Linked DNA regions of Homo sapiens: all the other regions are linked to region 5. Evidence: promoter capture Hi-C in 16 types of primary human blood cells and fetal thymus (Javierre and others, 2016). All regions are on one chromosome and are shown on one strand. Each heading gives the region's core, a stretch centred on a gene start or on the middle of the fragment in contact. The rest is flanking DNA. Distances are from core to core; before and after follow the strand shown. Region 1 holds the start of TM2D1 (TM2 domain containing 1). Region 2 overlaps LINC02778 (long intergenic non-protein coding RNA 2778). Region 3 holds the start of PATJ (PATJ crumbs cell polarity complex component). Region 4 has its middle 53 kb from the start of TM2D1. Region 5 holds the start of NFIA-AS2 (NFIA antisense RNA 2).

Region 1 (4,344 bases), core at 1-2,500, 750 kb after region 5:
GAGGCTGCTAGTTTGTCCAAGTCAATAAGCATATGTACAAATATACTTTTAGTATTGCTAAGTAATACTTGAGGCAGGAGGATCACTGGAGCCCAGGAGTTTGGGAAGAACAGCCTGGGCAACATAACGAGAAGTCTGTCTCTACAAATAATATAATAATACATAAACATTACAATAAACCTTTAAATTTGCCCCATAATTATCCACGTTTTTACTCATGAGAAAACAGAGTTCAAATAGGTCACCCAAGGTTGCAAAGTGCAACAGAAATTTATCCACTGAGTCCCCACGCGGTGGTTCATGGTGAGGGGGATGCGGATCGCTTGAGACCAGGAGTTCAAGACCAGCCTGGCCAACATGGCGTAAACCCCGTCTCTACTAAAAATACAAAAATTACCCGGGTGTGGTGGCGCATGCCTGTAGTCCCAGCTACTCAGGAGGCTGAGGCAGGAGAATTGACTGAACCCGGGAGGCGGAGGCTGCAGTGAGCTGAGATCGTGCCACTGTACTCCAGCCAGGGCGACAGAGTAAGACCCTGTCTCAAAAAAAGAAAACAGAAAGAAATTTGTCTGGCAGTCTACCATCTCATGAAGTTTGAAGATGACATGAGGTAATATGCATAATATACATAAAGTTAATGATAAATGGGCAACACATTGGCTAGATCGTTATTACTTGTCTTCCCCCTAGGAAGAGTTGGCAAACATTTCCAGGGTAAGAGACTATCCATCTTTGTATTACTAGTGTCTAGAACGGGGCCTGGCATACTTCAGGATCTACATGTTTTACTGAACAAGTAAGCACACTGATAAAAAAGAAAAAAAAAGTGGATCAGAAGAGGAAGCGCCAATGACTAGTAAAATCATAAGGAAATCACAAAGGGTGGCCTCTGGCCCTCCCATCTCCACAACTCTGTTCACCTTCAGGGATCCTTCAGTCATTAGAAGCCACAGATCAGATTATCGTTTTCACTCAGTACAGCCCTAGCCAGTCCTGACGGCAGCGACCCACCTGCGACCCCAACTCTACCTCGCCTCCATGGGGGGGTGTTCTCCACAGAGGATATTGTCCCACTTTGAGGTCCTCGCACTTAAGCGACTCCTCGCCCCCGGCGGAGGTGGCAACAGCCCCCCAGGGTCCTGTAGTGACTGAGACGAACCACAGGACACCAACGAGTCTGGCCGTCACGGCCTCCGGAGCAGACGGACCAGACGGCCAGGCGGCCGCCATCTTGGAGACCGACACTTTCTCGCCACTTCCGCTTCCGCCTCCGCCCAGGAGCGGGAGGGAGAAGGGCAACAGGGCGAGGTTCTTAAAGGGACCTCGCATAGGATAGAGGCCAGTTCCGTCTCTTCGCGTGTTCTTCTGCCCGTGAGCCCGTGGAATCACATTGGGAGACCCTTTTAAAATATGCATGTACCCAGTCCCTCGAGGCGAATTTTCCCCCACGAACCCTTGGAAGGAGCTAAGGTTAATCTTTGAGTGCTGGAGGAAGGAAACGAGTGGTTTAGGCAATCAGGTGCTTCACCCGCTTCTCATTCCCGCGCCCTTAGCTGAGGCTTCTCGGTCCTCTGAAAGTGCCAGCGGCGTCAGAGGTTGGAATCAATGCTTTCCTGACATCATCGCAGTTAGCCCTGATAGGTTTTGGGTTTACAGATAAGGAACAAGGCTCAAAGACGCTGAAACACACTGACCTTAATCACTAAGTGACTCAGTCGGAATGAAATTGATGTTTGCCAGATTTCAGATCTATGCTCTTACTAATTGACATAATGTCCTCCTGTAACTTTAGAGAAGGATTTTGGAAGGCTGCCACGAACAGAACTTAAAAACTGTGAGAGACATTACGCCTTTTAAAAAAAAAAAGTGACAATTTAGGTGGGGGATAATTTGGGGGGTGGAAACTGTAACAAGAGGAAACCAAATAGTTTATGATTAAGTGAAAAGTTGAAGATTTTTTTTCCTCCATCTGTTGTTTTTAAATTTCTATATGTTCTAAAAGTTCTGTGGTGGGGAACTTTAACAGTGAGGAAAAAATGTTTTCGTAAAGTTAAGTTTAATCTTTTTTTTGTCTAACAATATAAAAATTTGAACTTGAGTGGTGCTTCTTCATCCATACTTTAGCACTAACTTTGGTGGTTCTCAAACTTTGAATAGCATCTGAATCACCTGTAGTAGTTATTAAAACAGAATGATAGAACCGGCACTCAGAGTTTCTGATACAAAAGATGTAGGGAGGGACTGGATAATTTCCATTTCTAGGAGATCCCAAGGGATGTGGGTGTTGCTAGTCCAGGGACCCCCACTTTGAGAACACTGGTATAATGTTTTACGAGAAGTAAATTTTTTTTTTTAAGATGGAATCTCTCTCTGCCACCCAGGCTGGAGTACAGTGGCAGAATCTCAGCTCACTGCAACCTCTGCCTTCTGGTTCAAGTGATTCGCCTGCCTCAACCTCCTGAGTAGCTGGGACTGCACGCGTGCGCCACCACGCTCAGCTAATTTTTGTATTTTTAGTAAAGACAGGGTTTCACCATTTTGGCCAGGCTGGTCTCGAACTCCTGGCCTAAGTGATCTGCCCGCCTCTGCCTCCTAAAGTGCTGGGATTTCAGGTGTGAGGCCACACTGTGCCTGGCCTCATTTTGGAATATATATTCTGGAAGACATACAACTATTTGAAGTAATATTTAAACATAAACTACGTTTTTAAATTTTCTTTTTTTGAGGTGGAGTTTCACTGTTGTTGCCCAGGCTGGACTGCAATGGCATGATCTCGGCTCACTGCAACCTCCGCCTCCCAGGTTCAAGCTATTCTCCTGTCTCAGCATCCGGAAAGGCTGGGATTACGGCGCCCACTACCAGCCCAGCTAATTTTTGTATTTTTAGTAGAGACGAGGTTTCACCATGTTGAGCAGGCTGGTCTCGAACTCATGACTTAAGGTGATCCACCCGCCTCTGCCTCCCAAAGTGCTGGGATTACAGGCGCGAGCCACGGCGCCTGGCCCTAAAATTTTCATAATAAAACAACTTTGTAGCATTACTATGCTTTATTCATTCATTCATTTAGAGACAGAAATGGAGTTGAGACGGGAGTTTTGCTCTTGTTGCCCAGGCTGGAGTGCAATGGCACGATTCTCGCTTACTGCAAACTCCACTTCCCAGGTTCAAGCTATTCTCCTACCTCAGCCTCCTGAGTAGCTGGAATTACAGCCATGAGTCACCACGCCTGGCTAATTTTGTATTTTTAGTAGAGACGGGGTTTCTCCATGTTGATCAGGCTAGTCTCCAACTTCCGACCTCAGGTGATCCACCCGTCTGAGCCTCCCAAAGGTCTGGGATTACAGGCATGAACCACCACGCCCCGCTGCTATTTTTTGAGATGGAGTCTCGCTCTGTCATCCAGGCTGGAGTGCAGTGGCACGATCTTGGCTCACTGCAACCTCTGCCTCCCGGGGTCAAGCAATTCTCCTGCCTCAGCCTCCTGAGTAGCTGGGATTACAGGCGCACGCCACCACGCGCAGCTAATTTTTGTATTTTTTAGTAGAGACAGGATTTCACCATGTTGGTCAGGCTAGTCTCGAACTCCTGACCTCGTGATCCGCCCGCCTTGGCTTCCCAAAGTGCTGGAATACAGGCGTGAGCCACCGCGCCCCGCCGCTATTTTTAATTTAAGACATTTATACATAATATTTATGCTTTAAATCAGGTTTAAATGATTTAAGTGAAAAATTTAGTAGTTCAGTTATAAACTTCCTATTCTAAATGGACTTCTTCCTTCTCTCTTTTTTCTTCCTTCGTTTTTCCTTTCTTTCCTTTTTTTCCGTCCTCCCTCTCCCTCCAAAAAGGAAAAAAAAATTGTTTTTAATTGAGCATTTACTATGTACTCAGCATGAAGCTAGACCCTAGACTCAAAAATTTAGACAAAAACCCTGCAGGTAAGCACTTCCTGTTTGGTAAGGGAAAATACAAACAGTTAAATACTATTTGATAAGTGTTTGATAATTGTTACATTAGAAGCACATACTAGCTACTGTAGTAGGACAATGGGTTTGCTTAAGATATTCCTCCTGTGCCTGGCGTGGTGGCTCAAGCCTGTAATCCTAGCACTTTGGAAGGCCAAGGAAGGCAGATGGCTTGAACAAAAAAAAGAAAAGAAAAAGAAACATTTAAAAAAGATTCTCCCAAAATAGTAGTTGAAACGCTATATTTTTGTAGGATACATGACTGCTTAAAAAGGTATAGCCTAGGGCTGGGCGCAGTGGCTCACACTTGTATTCCCAGCACTTTGGGAAACCAAGGTGGGCGGATCGTGATGTCAGGAGATCAAGACCATCCTGGCTAACA
Region 2 (4,253 bases), core at 668-3,167, 810 kb before region 5:
AGTACAGGAGTTCCTTCAAAGAGGCTCTGCTAAGGGAGCGTAAAAGAGGGGGAAAGGAGCCATCCTTTTTGGCCACGGACTCTGTACCAGATGTTCCCTTTTAAGAGTTTCACATACATTATCACACTTAAACCTCACAGCAGCAGTTTGAGGGAGATCTGACTGCTCCCATTTTATACATAAGGACACTGAGGCTTAGAATCTTAAATGATGTGCTTAAGGTACATGCTATGGACTCGAAAGTTGAAAACTACGCCTGTATATGCCCAAAGTCCTTGGCAGTTTCTGCCAAAGGCTCTTTGTGCCACTTCATGTGAATAATAAAACACTCTGACACACCCCTCCACCCCCACCCTATGCCTCCTATCTGCCTTGGTGTTTATGTCCATTGGCTCTCATCTAAGCATTTTGCATTGGGTGCTTTTTGGTGTCTCAGTTCTTACCCTGCAACTCTACTCATTGCCTTGGCTTTGGTAACCAATATTCATTTTCTTCCAAATAAAACCTAATCTTGGCTCCAAAACTCTATTTCCTTACACTGTTGGCACACTTTGAGGAGGCACGAGCAGCCCTGAAAAAAGGTAGGGAAGCATGCTGCAGAATTTCAAGCCTCTCTCTCTATTAGTTTATTAATTTAAGATAGAATTCAGTGTTAAGAGCATGGGCTTTCGGTTCACTCAGAAGTGGGTTCCAAGCCAGACATTTTCATTAGATGGGTCACTCTGAACAAGTTACTCATGCGCATCAGCCTCAGTATTCTCTTCTACAAAATGGGGATAGAGATGTGCTCCAACCAGATTTATTGTTAGGGTTACGTGACATAATGTATGAAAGCACTAAGCATAGAATAGAGTGCTTAGTGAGCACTTAATAAATGGAAGCTATTATTTACGGTAAATGTTTGAAATTAAATGGTCACCATATTTATTGTAGAGTTGATAAATGAAGCTCATATCCCAGGGAAGAAATGAAACAGTATTATCATAGCATACTTATTTACCTTCCCCCAGAATGCTGAGGTCCTTTCCTACCTCTTCGTGGAAATATTCCTTGCTCTGCAATTTTTCATGTCTTGCAAGCTTCAATCAATACAATTGATTTAATGATTAATTTATTGTGTTCCTCAGTAAAAGCCCAGCATCGACTTCTTAAAATGGAATCTTATCGCATTTTAGACAAACAAAACTAATTGGCGACAATCATTTAAAGGGGAAGCACAAAACATTCTATACACACACACACAAAGTCAAAGCAAATAATGAGAAAAAAAGCTTGTATTATTTTAAGAATGCAAAAGTAGAGGATGAGTTGAAGTGTTCAGGCTTTCTGATTTGCTGAGCTCAAAAGATCATTTGGGCCAATTATGCTTATCTGTGAACTGACATTATTCATGACCTTTACATCCTGCCCTCTCTAAAACGACTTCAGGATTTTTTTTTCTGCTAGTAGTATGAGGAACAGTTGTGCTCTTCATTGCCTCATGGTTTGTTTTTATCTCAGACTAACCATGAGGCCTCCATCCTTCCCACTGGCATGTAGAAGATGTAGAGACAATCCTTGTATTGCATTTCTAGTTATGCATGTTTTAGATTGTTTCATTTCAAATGTGTGGGGTTTTTTTATTTCTACCATTTTGTTTCTCCTTGCTTCATCTTGCCCACCAAATTATAAAATGGATTACCTAGTGGAACTTCAAAGCATCTTTTTAGTTGCCTGTGTATATTTGGAACAAGGTAAGGGATAAATAAATACAGAAGTTAGGGGAAAAAAAAGTCTAGTTTCTTGTTCTCCTGTGCCACAGCCTAGTTTTGTAGTTGGCTACTTGCATAGTATTTGCCTTCTGTAGAGAGCTAATAGACTCTACCAGCAGCTCCCCACCCTGGTGGTTGGTTCTTTCTTTGCTGTCCTATCCTCTCAGGTGCCTTCCTTAGAAAGTCTGAGAAGGCTGGTGAGCCTCCAACCTGTGGGAGGTGGTTAAGGGAGGGCCTCGGGAGGCTGACTTGGCCACATGGTGTCAGTCTTGCAGCACTGATGTGAGAATTCTGGGACTTGTCTTTGGCAGCAAGAAATGTTCCATGCTTCCCCCATACAACTCTCACGTGAACCAGGATGAAATAGCATTTGTTAGAGGTTTTGTCTGCTCCAGGGGGAAGGGATAGGAGCTCTCTTTGAGATATATATATATATATATATATATATATATATATATATATATACTTTCCTAGCTGAGCTGTGTGTATGGTAACTTTTACACAATGGAAGGAACAGTAATTTTAAAAAATAATTTTCTTCACCAGGAGCCTTCTTGGCAAGATTGTCCACCCAGCACCACACTGAGTGAGCCTGCTGAGGCAGCCAAGTATCCTGGTGAAATCCTGGGCTTTGGAGCCTGACAGACCTGTGTTTGCATTCTCATTCTCCTAGCCCTGCACCCTGGCTAGCTGTGTGACCTCAAGCAATTTTTAAACTTTCTGTGCCTCAGTTTCTTCGTCTCCAAAATACCATTTATAATACCCATTTCAGAGGAATGCTGTGAGAATTAGGTTGGGTTGGCTTATAGAGCACAAGCTTACCATAGGTGCTCAGTGAATGAGAGTTATCAATAAAATGTGAGCTGCTCTCTATTTTACGTTTAAAATATATCTTCTACATTTTTTCCACAGAAACCAGTCAGAGAGGGAGAGAGAGAGAAAGCACTACAGTGGGGAGTGTGTGTGTATGTGTTTGTGTGTGTGTTGCTCAAGTGATGTGTACAGGAAGTAAAATCCTCCTAATATATTACATGTGACAGCTGCTGAACCTGTATCCTAACATCTCTTTCCCTGCCCAATAGTTCCATGACTCTCTCCTAGTGACAATGAACATTTCTACGATGCTTACTAATGACAGACAGCACAACACAGAGCATGAAACAGCCTCTCCCCAGGAACAGAGCTCAGCAACCCTATGCTCTAGCATCATCTGCACCAATTCTTTGATGTTCTCAGTGCTGGAGACAGCCTACTCAAAGGAATGCAGGGTTTGGAGTCAAGGAGTCAAGTGTAGGTAGGAATTTCAGCTCCCAGACTTAACTAGCTGTGTAAGCTTGAGTAACCATTTACTCCATCAAAGTTTCACTTTTATAATTTGTAAAAATAAGAATAATGCCACCTAATTATTAATGTTGTTTTTTATTGGGGGTTAAATAAGACAGCACAAGTGAAAGCTCTGAAGACGAAGGAAATGCCAAGTCCCTGGTAAATATTTCCTGTTCACTTTTAGATGAAGGCTCTCAGGACTGCCCAATCTGATGGAAGAAATTGCCTTCCTAGACTTGCCAGCATCTCTGGGAACTGTCTTGAACTCCATATCAGAGATATGTAGAGGAGGAAACACACAAGTTCTCTTTCAAACACATTAAGTTGGAGGTGTCTGTTGAATCGGTAGGTGGAGATGTCTTCTGGGTTGGATATACAGGTCTATAGCTTTGGAAGAACTCTGGGTGGAGATTAGGAAGTCGTCTGAATTGAATGAATTTCACTCAAGCAAATAACTTTCTTCCAGGTATTCCCAGTCCCACTTCCCTTCGTCAACTCAATTTAACACATGCCGACTGTTAGGCCCTATTTTCTTTCAGAGAATCTTAGGCTAGCTGGAAATACTGTTCTTCCACTTGGCTCATCCACTCTTGCTTGGACTCCTTCCATTCCTGCCCAGGTATTACAGAATATAGAATCCACGTGGAACTATGAAATTCTGTTTTCTAAGCCATGGCTTCCTACCTTATAAAATTCAGTGTTTCAGATTGATAGTCTCTAGGTTGACCTATGATATGACACTGTTGTAGAATCCTAGAGGGTTGCTGATTACCAGTAACAAACATCCTCTTTTAAGTATTGGAAACTGAGGCCCAGAAGAGCATCTAAGTGATTTTCTCCATCACTGCGAAACTCAGAGCCATCACATCAGTCTGCCTCCTTACTTATAATGTGGTAGGTTATGATCTAGATGGTAGTTCAATTACTTAAGGGGTCAAGGATTAAAGTGTGGCCCTTCTCATGAACCAGCTGTTTAAAGGATTGAAAGGGAACTCTCCAAAGACCTCAACACATAGAACCCTTCATTAATATGAATTATTGTTGACATAGACTTAGACTTGTCATGGGTTAGAAAAAACTCTGGCCATCAAATAAAATGATGAACTGATATGAACTGATAAAACAGTATTCCTCTAAAGGTAAGAGTCAGATGGACCGAAGCTAAGAGTCAGATGG
Region 3 (4,254 bases), core at 1-2,500, 770 kb after region 5:
GTCTCTCTCTGTCACCCAGGCTGGAGTGCAGTGGCAGGATCTTGGCTCACTGCAACCTCTGCCTCCTGGGTTCAAGTGATTCTCCTGCCTCAGCCTCCTGCGTAGAGGGGACTACGCATCCACCACACCCGGCTAATTTTTGTATTTGTAGTAGAGACGGGGTTTCATCATATTGGTCAGGCTGGTCTCGAACTCCTGACCTCGGGTGATCCACCCGCCTCGGCCTTCCAAAGTACTGGGATTACAAGCGTGAGCCACCGCGCCCCGCCTGAAAGTCTTTATGTTGTAGTTGTTTTGTATCTATTCCTCATCTTCCTGGGGACAGGGATACCATTTTACACATCTTCCCACAATCAATCACAGTGTTTAACAATTACTGTATGTACTCTATGAATAAGATACCTGAAGATTGATTCTCTTTATCGTTAATGTGTGGACTGTATCAGGCAAAGTAAAACCCCTATCATCAAAAGCCTAAAGTTATTAAAGGGAGTGGAAGAAGGCTATCGGGACATATTTTTCTCGAAGGTGTGACATCACAAATAAAAGAAAATTAACGTATAGTGAAATCATCACTGTAGTTAGAGTCAAAATGCCTTGCCTGTGTTCCAAACTTTGGGCCAGTCAACCTACAGGGTGCACGGTTTCCTCATTAGTTTCTTCAGAGAGTAAATGAGACATTGCATAAGCTAGCACCTAGCATACAGCAGGCAAATACTGCTGGATTTCTTTCTTCCACTAAATGAGAAGAAAATAATGACTCCCACATTTACACGTTTTAGAATATTTTATTTTGCGTCAGCGAATAGAGAAAACAAAGGAGGGATGAGAGAACAGGAAAGGAAAGGGGCAAAAAGACAAAGTGTTAAGCGGATTGACCCAACGCTTTCATCGATATCCTCCTCAATTTCCTTGATCTTGGGTCTCGCTCTACACGCAGGCCTCCAACCACACCGGTCTGTCCGGATCTCCCTCCCCGTCAGTGGCGGCTGTCCCCACCACGCGCGGTCTGATCCGCCACCCCGCCCCCACAGCCCACTTTTCCCAGGCCCTTGGCCATCCCGCGCCCGGTAGGAATTCACCTGCACGTAAACAGCCAGGGCAACCGTCCTCCCTCCTTGGAGCCCGCCTCCCGCGGCCCCGGGCTCCCTCCCCCGCCCCCTGCGCCACCCCGGTGCCCCGCCCCGGGCGGGGAGAGTCGGGGCGAGGGGAGGGCCTGCCAGGTGAGGCGCGGTCACCCTGGGCCTCTCACTTCCGCCCAGGTGAGGCAGGGCCGACACCGAGCCCGCCCGACCCGGGCTCCCACCTGCTCCTCCAGCGCACCAGGTAAAGCGTGAGGTCCCGGCTGTGCAGTGCGCGCTCGCCCCTGGGTGTCCCCGCGCCTGGAGGCCGGCCGGGGGCAGCTCCCTCGGGGCTTCCCGGGCCTGCCTGCCCTGCCCCCGCGCTCTCCCCGCCCGCCCGCCTGGAGTGGGTGGGAGCCGGAGGTGGAGGGCGCCGCCGGGCGCTCAGAGGGGCCGCGGCGAGGATGGGGCGCCCGCGGCGTGCGTCCGCGCTGACCCGGGAGGCGGGGCGGGGGCGCCGTCCTCCTGCGTCGGGCCCGGGTGACCCCACGGTGGTCCCCGCCCCGCCGCGCAGGGCTCGCCGAGGCCGCGGGCAGGGAGGGGCGCCGCCCCGCCTCCCCAGGCCTTTCGGGCCTCGAATCTCGGCCCACTGGTATTCGGGGGTGGCACGGATCCTATTTTGCGCCCAGATCGGTGCCCCTGTTTCGCTCCCAGAGCTGGGCGGAGTCTTTCCCTCCATCGGTGGCCGTGGAAGGAGGGAACGGGGTGAGGGGACAAAGAGGAGGGGGTGCTCAGAGCCGGGCTGAGGGGGCGACTTGGGCCCGGCCGCGTCGCGGCGCCTGGTCATCCCGTAGCGGAGGTTCCCAAGCCAGCGGTCAGGCCCTGGGCTCTGCCAGCCTTGCTGCGTAGATGGGGAGGTTCTGTCGGAAAGTGCTTCCAGCCTTAGGGGAAATTCCTGGACTCCTGCTTTTAAATCAAGCTCAGGAAAGCATTTTCAGATCACTCCCACTCTCCAAAGCGCCCCAGCCGTCCCGCACGCAGGCCGAATTAAGTGAACACCCCTTCACTTGGCACTTTGTCATATTTCCAAGTGGCTCTTGTCACTTTGAATTCCAGTTGGTTGTTTACTGGCTTGCCTCTGCCATTTAGAGGGTGCCCCTTTCAGGGCCTTATTTTTCGACTGCATTTAGGGTCTGGCTATTGGTAGGTGCGCGACAAGTGTTTCTTAAAGGAAGGCAGAAGCCTTTGGAAACCCAGAAGGACAATGTCGGTTCCACTGAGGATGATACTACCACATTCTGGGCTAAATTCCTATTGGCTGCAAATTAATTTGCACACATCTATTTGAAAGGAGTGGAGGCAGGGGCAGCGGTTAAAAACTTAAATCTGTTTGCAGCATTAGAAAATGTTAGGTGAGATTGAGCCTTTTAGCTAAAGTGAGCTTTGATGTTTTTAGGGCCCCTAATGGCCTTTAAGATGTTAACAATAACAACAACAACAAAACACTCCAAATGTGTTGAATTTATTTGGGAATGAGAAATGAGCGTTATAGCCCGAGGTGCACAGGCCTGGCAAGCCATATATGCATGGAAGAGGGGAGGGTAAAAGGAAACTTTTATTGGCAAAGTAAGTGCAGATAAGCTGCGTGAAAACAGAGTTTATTGGTTTTGCAGACTGAAAGCCAGAGTTGGCCATTGTTGAAGATGCCATTACTGGGCAGGTGTTATGGAGAGCATCTTATCAGGCCTGGCAACCTGCCTCATGCCTGTTATCTCAGCTACTTAGGAGGCTTAGGCAGGAGGATCGCTTGAGGCCAAGAGTTGGAGACCAGCCTGAGCAACATGGCTGTCTTTACAGAAAAAGCTTTTTAAATAGTCAGGTGTGTCGGGAGGTTGAGGCAGGGGAATTGCTTGAGCCCAGGAGATGGAGGCTGTGGTGAGTGGTGTTTGCACCACTACACTCCAGCCTGGGTGACAGAGCAAGAACCCTGTCTCAAAAAAAAAAAAAAAAAAAAAAGGAAAAAAGATTATCTTATCTTATCTTATCTGAATTACTGCATTCCTAAAGAAAGAATTTCTTGGGTGGTTATTTTAGTTCCTTCTTGAGACCGATCTTTATCTCAGACTTGCAAGCATGAGCTTTCTCCCTCAGGCTCTCTAGTTTGTTTGGGTTTGACAAAAAGTGATTTTGACCTGGTATCTGCAACTTTCACAAAGATAATAACAAAGTTAATAAATATGGAAATACTTATGGATAGAACTTATAAAATGAGTTCTGAAGAGATTTGCCCTTACTAGTCCAGATCCTATTAGGAGTAAGAGAAAAAACACAAACTTTTTCCTCTGCTCTCACACCACTACAGTCAACACTGAGGACTTCTGTGACCAAATAAATGTGTGGGCCCATCAGTTCTGCATCAAGCAATAGCTGAGCATCTAACAGTTCGATTCTGAAACTATTTACCTGGGGATAGTGTCAGATCCCATAAGACTGCCCTCACTTCTGATGCCAATCACAAGTCCTAGATTGTTTTACCCCGGCTTCTGACTAACCACCTATAAATTGGGAATCCCATAACTCCCTCCTCTGGGTTGGTTAACTTGCTAGAGCAGCTCACGGAACTCAAGAAAACACTTATTTAGGTTTATTACTAGTTTATTATTAAGAATATTACAGAGGATACAAGAGGAAGAGATGCACAGGGTGAGGTATGAGAAGGGGCATGCCACCCTCCAGGAACCTCCATGTGTTCAGATATTGAGAAGCTCTCCCTACCCCATCTTCTTGGGCTTTTTATGGAGACTTCATTGAGTAGACATAATTGAAGCATGGGGTAGGGAAACCCAGCAATGCCTATCTGTTCAGATTTTTCTTGGCCTCTCTCTGTAGCATTCCTTCCTCCAGGGTATGGGCAGGACCCCTTCTTATGGGGGTCTTATGACCTACAATCAGACAAGGGAGATCAGATAATTTTTTTAAATATTTATTTATTTATTTATTTTGAGACAGAGTCTTGCTCCGCTGCCCAGGCTGGAGTGCAGTGGGTGATCTCAGCTCACTGCAACCTCCACTTCCCGGGTTCAAGTGATTGTCCTGCCTCAGACTCCTGAGTAGCTGGGATTACAGACATGTGCCACCATACCTGGCTAATTTTTGTATTTTTAGTAGAGACAGGGTTTTACCATATTGGCCA
Region 4 (4,456 bases), core at 563-3,062, 700 kb after region 5:
TGGACATAAAGATGGCAAGAATGGACACTGGGAACTACTAGAGTGGGGAGGGAGAGGAGGGCAAGGGTGGAAAAACTACCTATTGAGTACTATGCTCACTTCCTGGATGACAGATCAATTGCACCCAGACCTCAGCATCATGCAATATACTCATGTAACAAACCTGCACATGTACCCCTGAATCAGAAATAAAAGTTGAAATTATAAAGTTTAAAAAAAAAGGAACTAGAAAAAGCAAGGAAACAGATTCTCCCCTACAGCCTCCGGAAGGACAGAGCCCTGCTGATACTTTTGTTTTAGCCCACTGAGACCAGATTTGGACTTCTAACCTCCGACCACATCTTCAAGAACCTGAAGGAAATCCTTCCAAGGAGGTGAGCAGAGCAGTTTCAGAACAAGCAGCAGCAGTAAGCAAAATTCTCAGGCTAAAAGAGACCAGGGCACATTCCAGTCATCTCAAGGGGTCAGCAGACCAAGTACTCACTGTGAGGGGACAGGGCAGGGTGGCTGGGACTCAATCAGGATAAACCTTTTAAGCCAGAAAAAGGAATCTGGATTTTATCTTAAATGACATAGGTAGCTTCTTGAGGGTTTTAAGCAAGAGACAGAGATGATCGCTTTCTTTTCGGAACCATCAGTCTGGTATGGTAGGAGTAGGAAGGGTGACGGAGAGGAAGGTGGAGCTCTGGCCAGGTAACCAAGGCAGGAGTTTATCAGAGGATCCTAGATGAGAGATATTCAGGAGCCTGAAATAGCAGGGTTGCAATGAGGATGAAGTAATGATTTCAGAGTATTTATGAGGTGGAATTAAAGGTTTGGTGATCCACCCAAGGAAGGGAGAAAATGGCATCAAAGATAACTTCTGGGCTTCTTTCTTGGTGGACGTGCTGCTATTTCCCCTGTCATAATGAATAAGGGGGAAATAAGTTTAAAAATGAGGATGAGTTTTCAACCACTGGTGCTGGGACAACTGGATATCCACATAGAAAAAGTGAATTTACATGCAGACTTTACACCCTCCACGATAATTAACTCAAAATGAATCACAAACCTAAATGTGAGACACAAAGCTATAAAACTCCTAGAAGAAAACATAGGAGAAAATCTAGATGCTCTTGGGTCTGGTAATGACTTTTTAGATACAACACCAAAGGCACCATTCATGAAAGACATAATTCATAAGCTGGACATCATTAAAATTCAAAATATCTGCTCTGCAAAGGTTACTGCCAAGAGAATGAAAAGACAAACCACAGACTGGGGGAAAATATTTGCAAAAGACATATTTGATAAAGAACTGTTACACAAAATATACAAAAAAACCTTTTAAACTCAACAACAAGAAAATAGGGGCCAGGCGCAGTGGCTCATGCCTGTAATCCCAGCACTTTGGGAGGCCAAGGCAGGGGAATCTCTTGAGGCCAGTTTGAAACCAGCCTGGGCAACATAGTGAGACCCCTTCTCTACAAGAAAATAAAAAATTTAGGCCAGGCGCGGTGGCTCATGCCTGTAATCCCAGCACTTTGGGAGGCCAAGGCGGGTGGATCCCGAGGTCAAGAGCTCAAGACCAGCCTGGCCAGGATGGTGAAACCCCATCTCTACTAAAAATACAAAAATTAGCTGGGCGTGGTGGCAGGTGCCTGTAATCCTAGCTACTCAGGAGGCTGAGGCAGAGAATTGCTTGAACCTGGGAGGCAGAGGTTGCAGTGAGCCGAGATTGTGCCACTGCACTCTAGCCTGGGCGAAAGAACGAGACTCCGTCTCAAAAAAAAAAAACGAAAGAAAAAGAAAAGAGAAAAAATTAGCTAGGCACAGTGGCTCATGCCTGTAGTCCTAGCTATTTGGGAGTGTGAGGTGGGAGGATTGCTTGGATTGCTTGAGCCCAGGGGCTGGAGTTTACAGTGAACTATGATCATGCCACTGCACTCCAGCCTGGACAATAGAGTGAAACCCTACCTCTAAAAAATATAAAAATCAGAAAACGTGAATAAAAAATGGGCCAAAGACCATAATAGACATCTTACCAAAGAAGTATACAGATGACATACAGGCATACGAAAAGATGCTCTACATCATATGTAATCAGCGAAACGCAAATTAAAATGACCATGAGATACCCCTACATGCCTGTGAGAATAGCCAAAATCCAGCACACTGACACCACCAAATTCTGGAGAGGATGTGTAGCAACAGGAACTCTCATTCATTGCTCATGGGAATGCAAAATGGTACAGATATTCTGGAAGACAGATTGGCAGTTTCTTACAAAACTAAACTTGTTCTTACCATATGATTCAGCAATCACACTCCTTGGTATTTACTCAAAGGAGTTGAAAATTTATGTCCACACAAAAACCTGCACATAGACGTCTATAGCAGCTTTATTCATAATTGCCAAAACTTGGAAGCAACCAAGATGTCCTTCAGTAGGTGAATGGAAAATAAACTGTGGTACATCCAGTCAGTGAAGTATTATTCAGTGATAAAGGGAACTGAGTTGTCAAGCTGTGAAAAGACATGAAAGAAACTTAAATGCATATTACTAAGTGAAAGGAGCCAGTCTGAAAAGCCTACATACTATATGATTCCAACTGTATAACATTCTTGAAAAGCCAAACTATGGAGATAGTAAAAAAATCAGTGATTGCCAGGAGTGGGGGTGGGGAGGGATGAATAAGCAGAGCACAGAGGATGTTAAGGGCAATGAAACTATTTCTATATGACACTGTAATAGTGACTCCATGTCATTATACATTTGTCCAAAACCACAGAATATACACCAAGAGTGAACCCTCATGTAAACTATGGACTCTGGGTGATAATGATGTGTCGATGTAGGCTTATCGACTGTAATAAATATACCACTGTAGTAAGGATCTTGATAGTGGTGGGAGAGGGGTATGCATGTGTGGGGATAGTGGAAAATCTTTGTACTTTCTACTAAATTTTGCTATGAACCTAAAACTGCTCTAAATAATAAAGTCTATTATTTAAGGGAAAAAAAAGCAGATGAGAACAATTTTGAAAATGTTACATATAGGTCCCGAGGAAATAGAAACAGACATGTTAATGGGTAGTTTGGTATTATTACTTCATTCCCTATTGATAGATGAGGAAACAGGCTCAGAGAGATGAAGTATCTTGTCCAAGGTCACACAGCACACTAAGAGGCAGAGGGTAGAATCTGAACCAAGAAAGTTTGACTCCGTTGTCCACATAAGTGGCCATATGTGAAAGGAGGTTTTGAGGCCTATATTTGTTTCCCATCATTGCTGCTCCAGACCACCAGAAATTTAGTGCCTTAAAACAACACAAATTTATTATCTTATAGTTCTGGAGGTACAGAATTTCAAAATGAGTCTCAAGGAGCTCAGGAGAAAGTGTTATAAGGCTGTGTCCTTCTGGAGGCACCTATGGGAGAATCTGTTTCCTTGCCTTTCTGAGCTTCCTTCTAGAGGCCAGTTGCATTCCTTGGCTCATGGCCTCCTTCCACCTTCCAAGCAGTAATCACATCACTGTGACCTCTGTGTCTGCTGTTACATTTCTTCTTCTGACCAAGGTACATCATAATTAAACTTCTGAAAACCAAAGAAAAAAAATAAGGCCAGAGAGAAATGATGCACTGCCTGTAGAGGAACACCAATTTAGAGGATGGGTTTTTCATCTGAAACTGTAAAGGCCAGGAAGAAATGACACAACACTTTTCAAGTGCTGAAAGAAAAGAACTTTCAGTTATGCATCCTATATCTGGTGACATTATCCTTCAGAAACGGAAGGGGAATAAAGATATTCACACATGAAGGAAAACTAAGAAACTTAGTTGCCATTAAACTCACCCTTGAAGAATAGCTAAAGTAAACTCTCCAAACAGAAAGAAAGTAACAGGATAAGGCTGGGAACTTTGGAAATTAAAAGAACAAGAACAGAATGGATAAATATTGGGTAAATATAGCAGACTAACTTCCCTTCATAAGTTTCTTACATCATATTTGGTAGGTGAAGCAAAATTTTTTTGTTTACTTGAGGCTGAGTCTTACTCACTCTGTCTCCCAGGCTGGAGTGCAGTGTAGCATGATCTCGACTCCCTGCAGCCTCCGCCTCCTGGATTCAAGTGATTCTCTTGCCTCAGCCCCTGGAGTAGCTGAGATTACAGGTATGAGCCACCGCACCCAGACAAAAATTTTTTTAAATAGCCTACAGGTGCTACTAAGTGAGGCAAAATTTGTAACACTATCTGATGTGGTGGTGCTCAATATATGTAGAGGAAATACTTGAGACAATTGTATTTTAGAAGTGGGAAGCACAAAGGGACCTAAATGGAAGTAAGCTTTCAACACTTAAAGAGGCAAAGTGTTGACACCAGTAGACGGTGATAAGTTATGTATTTATATTGCAATGTCTAGAGAGATCACTAAAAAAAATTATGTGGGGCAATATGCTCGAAAGCATCATAGAG
Region 5 (3,888 bases), core at 468-2,967:
AAACAGAAGAAGGAGTGGGAAGCTCTCATTTCTCCATCATTATCAGGCTCTGTTCTCAGGAAGCCAGAGAAACCTATGGCATGCTGCCTATGCAGGCCTCCTCCAGACCCATGGCTCAGACAGACCCGCCTGAACTCCAGCAGAGAAACAAGCCCCTGACCATTCCCTTCATCAGGGCAGGCAGGATGCAAGCCAACAGCTTCTCCTCCAGTGAGCCAATCCCATTACTTTTTTCCTTTTTAACTTTGTAAGAACACGTAACATGAGGGCCACCTTCTTAGCAAAATTTTAAGCACACAATACAGTATTATTGACCATAGGTAAAGCGTTGTACAGCAGATCTCTAGAACTCACTCATCTTGCTTAACTAAAACTGTATGTCCATTGATTAACAACTGTTCATTTCTCACTCCACCTAGCTCCTGGCAACCACCATTGCACTCTTTGATTCTACGAATTTGGCAATTTTAGATACCCCACATAAGTGGAATCATGCAGTTTCGTCTTTCTCTGAGTGGTTTATTTCATTTAGTATAATGTCCTCAAGATTCATCCATGTTGTCACATATTTTAGAGTTTCTTTTTTAAGGCTAAGTAATATTCTGGGATGTGTGTGTATGTGTGTGTGTGTTCCACATTTTCTTTATCCATTGATCTGTTGTTGGATATTTAGTTCATTTCTACATCTTGGCTATTGTGTATAGTGCTGCAATGAACATGGGAGTACTAATATCTCTTCAAGATCCTCATTTCAATTCTTTTGGATAAATACCCTGTGGGACTGCTGGATCATATGGTAATTCTATTTTTAATTTTTTGAGGAACCTCCATACTGTTTTCCATAGCAGCTGCACCATTTGGCATTCCCACCAACAGCATGCAGGGTTCCAACTTTCCCACATCCTTGCCTGAATCTCTTTTTGGATTCCGGAGTGACAGTGTCTCAGGATCTTGGCGGGGAAGGACCATCACCTCCTCATAATCCGTGCCACTCTGGAGGGCTGAGCACACAGTTCTCCTTGTTTCCCTGTTTGCCAGCTTGCCTTGTGGATAAATGCAGAGAAGGATTCAGGATTGGAGGGAAGGGTGAATTCACGGCCCTACAGAGCATGTCTAAAAGCATTTGTCAAAAAAAGAGTTAATGACTGCTTCTCTGCGGGAAGCCCTAAAGAAATGAGTGTCCTGAAGTGTAGAACATTCGCTTTTACGGTAGGTGGTGTTATTGTTACATGTTCATACAGACAGTGCTAATTAACAATCCTAAAGGCCACATCATTAAATTATTTCTCCGCTAAAAACCCTATGATGTTTAATGCGTCCCAGCAATTCAATTATATCTAAAACACTGGCCTGAACGGCAGGCACTATTCTGTGGCTGACAAAGTGCAAGTTGCTCTTAAGAACAGGTGAAGCTTAACAAGGAAAGAACAACATCTGACAAACTACCTCCCTGCTCTTCTCCCTAACATACACCCTAAGAATAAAAACAACAGTGATATTCCAAGAAAATTAACGTGGGTCTTACCTTTGCTAGGCTGGCGATGAAATATAGGCTTTACCAAATTTTCTGTGAAGAATCTGACAAGATTTTCTTAAAAGATTTCACCCAAAATAATCAAATCAGTGCCCTCAGATCTATTTAAGGTCCATCGGGTTTCACTGTTTTTTCTCTGGATCCTACCACCCATCCTTTGTCATTTCTAACCACTGCAAATTGCATTTTGGGTTTGAACTTGGGGTGACTTCATGGCTTTGGTCTGGGTTTTTCCTGGATGTGTATCACAGTCAGCAGAGAGCACTTTGAAGAGCACACAAAGCCTCTTTGTCTCCCACTCAGTGAAATATCTCAAGTACAGAGCACAGTGAAAAAGGGCTTCTTTCCAGCTTAAACACACACACACACACACACACACACACACACACACACACACACACACAAAAGAAGCTCTTGCCCTTCCCTGCCGCCCCCAGCTGCTGTGGTGAGACAGTCTCTGCACAGGCACAGGGCCCAGTGCAACTGGCCAAGTGGCCTCAGTCCTCTGGACAAGGCTTGGCAGGCAGCACCATGACAGAACCTCCTGCTTGGAAGGTGTTGGTGCCGAGACTGCATCTGGGAGCAGCACATATGTGATTCCACTAGTTTTTACACAAAGAGGCAGACTATGCCAGTGGCCAGCTGGCCAGCTGGGCACTCATCTGCAACCTTAGAAGCAGGAGTCAGGGAGCAACCCACTGATCCTCTTGTCATGGTCTTCCCAAGTGCCCAGTTTCCACATAAACCATTTCCTCATCACTCTCCTCCCTAACACTATCCCAACAGTACCCTCAAGGAGGCCCCACTCAGCTCTATGAGGACAGGGGGCTATGTATCTCCTTAGCTCCATACCACCAAGCACACTGCCTTACATGGAACACACTCTCAGTAAAGGTTTCTTGGATGGAAAGATGAATGAACAGATAGACAGATGGATGATGGGTGGGTGGATAAGTGTGTGCATGGATGGGTGTGTGCAGGGATGGGTGGGTGGATGGATGGGTGGGTGGATAGAAGAATCTTATAAACCATTGTTCGGATCCTGGCTCAAACATTTTCTTTTTGTGAGATCTTGGGAAAATTACCAAAACTAAGATACTACAAAACTAAGCCTTTTGGTTTTTTATCTGTACAAAGAATGATAGCAGTTACGGTGGAGATTGAGAAAATTCAGTAAGCACCTGATAGTAGGTGCTCTGTACACATTCATGGTTTTTACCCAGGAACTGTTTATAGATTATCAAGTCCCTTGCTTCTGTAGGAGGTCTTTCCTATCACTGTCGAATTCATTGCTCACTTGCATCTCTCCCAAAGGGATGGCAGAGGAAAGGTAGTAAAGGGTGCTTAGAGTGGAGTGAGGACTACAAGAGGGAGCACCAGTATTGACTGGGGATGCAGGGTTTCTAATTTTTCTAGCCCAGAAAAATTCAGACAGGCATGGTTTGGAGGAGACCTGGGTTCCAGTCAAGGCCCTGTCCCCAACTAGCTGGATAAACATGGCATGATCACCTCTCCCTTGTGGTCCTAGATTTCTTCTATGAGATAAACTCATATGATTGCATGAATGCTGAAGTCTCTTCAACTCCCAACTCTGTGATTCTATCCTTCGAGATCCACTTAACATCTTCTTACCTCCTCATTGAAGCCTGTCCTGACCATTCCTGCTGACAATAAATTCTCCCTCTTCTCAGAATCTGTGACTCTTGTCTGCGCTATGTGTCTGGAAATTAGTTCACTTCATAGCCTTGCAATGATGATGATAGCAAACTCTCAAATCATACTAACTGGAGGACCAGAGATTATTCTTAGCTACACACATACGCACACACACTTGAACATATGCATGCACATACACACACATACACACATAATCATTACATTCTCATAATACCTCTCTATGAAGTGAGCAATCTCAAAATCTCATTTTACAGATGAAAAACTGACACATAAACACACACAAAAAACTTACCCAAGACCAAACAGCTTTAAGCACTGGGCCAAGTATTTGAACCCAAGCAGGCATGACCTGCTGTTACCAGGCTGTCATAGGTCTCCTTGTTATTCAGCATCTCACTCCTCTCCCCAGTAGCTTCCCTAAGCATAGGGGCAGTGGGGTGCTGTGGCTAAGTCAAAGGACTCCCTGTCTAGACCACCTGTATGTGAACCCCAAATCTATTTTACTGCTTTGTACCTCTATTTTCCCATGCATAAAACAAGAGTAAAAAGTGCACTCCCTCGTAGGGTTGTTATGAGAATTAAATTAGTTACTCTAAGTAAAGCATTTAGACCAGACATTTGCTGTTATTGGGTGTAGGAGCCCAGCCTAAAACATCTCTGTAGTCTCTATGCCTCAT

Evidence for each region. Contacts are between HindIII fragments. The CHiCAGO score rates a contact against its expected background, and 5 or more counts as called.
Region 1: the fragment with the promoter of TM2D1 here is called in contact with the fragment with the promoter of NFIA-AS2 in region 5 in 7 of 17 cell types (erythroblasts, monocytes, M0 macrophages and 4 more); the score reaches 10.3 in erythroblasts.
Region 2: a fragment that was not itself captured here is called in contact with the fragment with the promoter of NFIA-AS2 in region 5 in 1 of 17 cell types (endothelial precursors); the score reaches 6.6 in endothelial precursors.
Region 3: a contact is called between the fragment with the promoter of PATJ here and the fragment with the promoter of NFIA-AS2 in region 5, in 10 of 17 cell types (M1 macrophages, erythroblasts, monocytes and 7 more). The highest score is 13.8, in M1 macrophages.
Region 4: a contact is called between a fragment that was not itself captured here and the fragment with the promoter of NFIA-AS2 in region 5, in 1 of 17 cell types (monocytes). The highest score is 5.4, in monocytes.

Annotation. Positions count from the first base shown.
Region 1 is chr1:61,723,891-61,728,234 of GRCh38, forward strand. TM2D1 (TM2 domain containing 1) reads right to left here and starts at 1,251. Exons shown (of 7, transcript NM_032027.3): 1 at 1,067-1,251. The coding sequence starts at 1,230. RefSeq lists enhancers at 553-1,240, 697-1,896, 933-1,592, 1,241-1,926. The HindIII fragment of the contact is 25,050 bases long and covers 1-4,344 here.
Region 2 is chr1:60,155,054-60,159,306 of GRCh38, forward strand. All of the region lies in intron 1 of LINC02778 (long intergenic non-protein coding RNA 2778), which reads left to right. LOC107984963 (a long non-coding RNA gene) reads left to right here. Exons shown (of 3, transcript XR_001738092.1): 3 at 3,262-3,752. Among named protein-coding and RNA genes, the nearest start is that of LINC02778, 42 kb to the left of the region's middle. The HindIII fragment of the contact is 1,297 bases long and covers 1,270-2,566 here.
Region 3 is chr1:61,741,230-61,745,483 of GRCh38, forward strand. PATJ (PATJ crumbs cell polarity complex component) reads left to right here and starts at 1,251. Exons shown (of 44, transcript NM_001350145.3): 1 at 1,251-1,326. PATJ-DT (PATJ divergent transcript) reads right to left here and starts at 1,555. Exons shown (of 1, transcript NR_185910.1): 1 at 769-1,555. RefSeq lists a silencer at 1,003-1,712. The HindIII fragment of the contact is 6,850 bases long and covers 1-2,922 here.
Region 4 is chr1:61,670,340-61,674,795 of GRCh38, forward strand. No RefSeq gene overlaps it. Among named protein-coding and RNA genes, the nearest start is that of TM2D1, 53 kb to the right of the region's middle. The HindIII fragment of the contact is 5,025 bases long and covers 1-4,325 here.
Region 5 is chr1:60,969,023-60,972,910 of GRCh38, forward strand. It overlaps NFIA-AS2 (NFIA antisense RNA 2), which reads right to left and starts at 1,718. Exons shown (of 7, transcript NR_110617.2): 1 at 1,526-1,718. The HindIII fragment of the contact is 8,221 bases long and covers 1,411-3,888 here.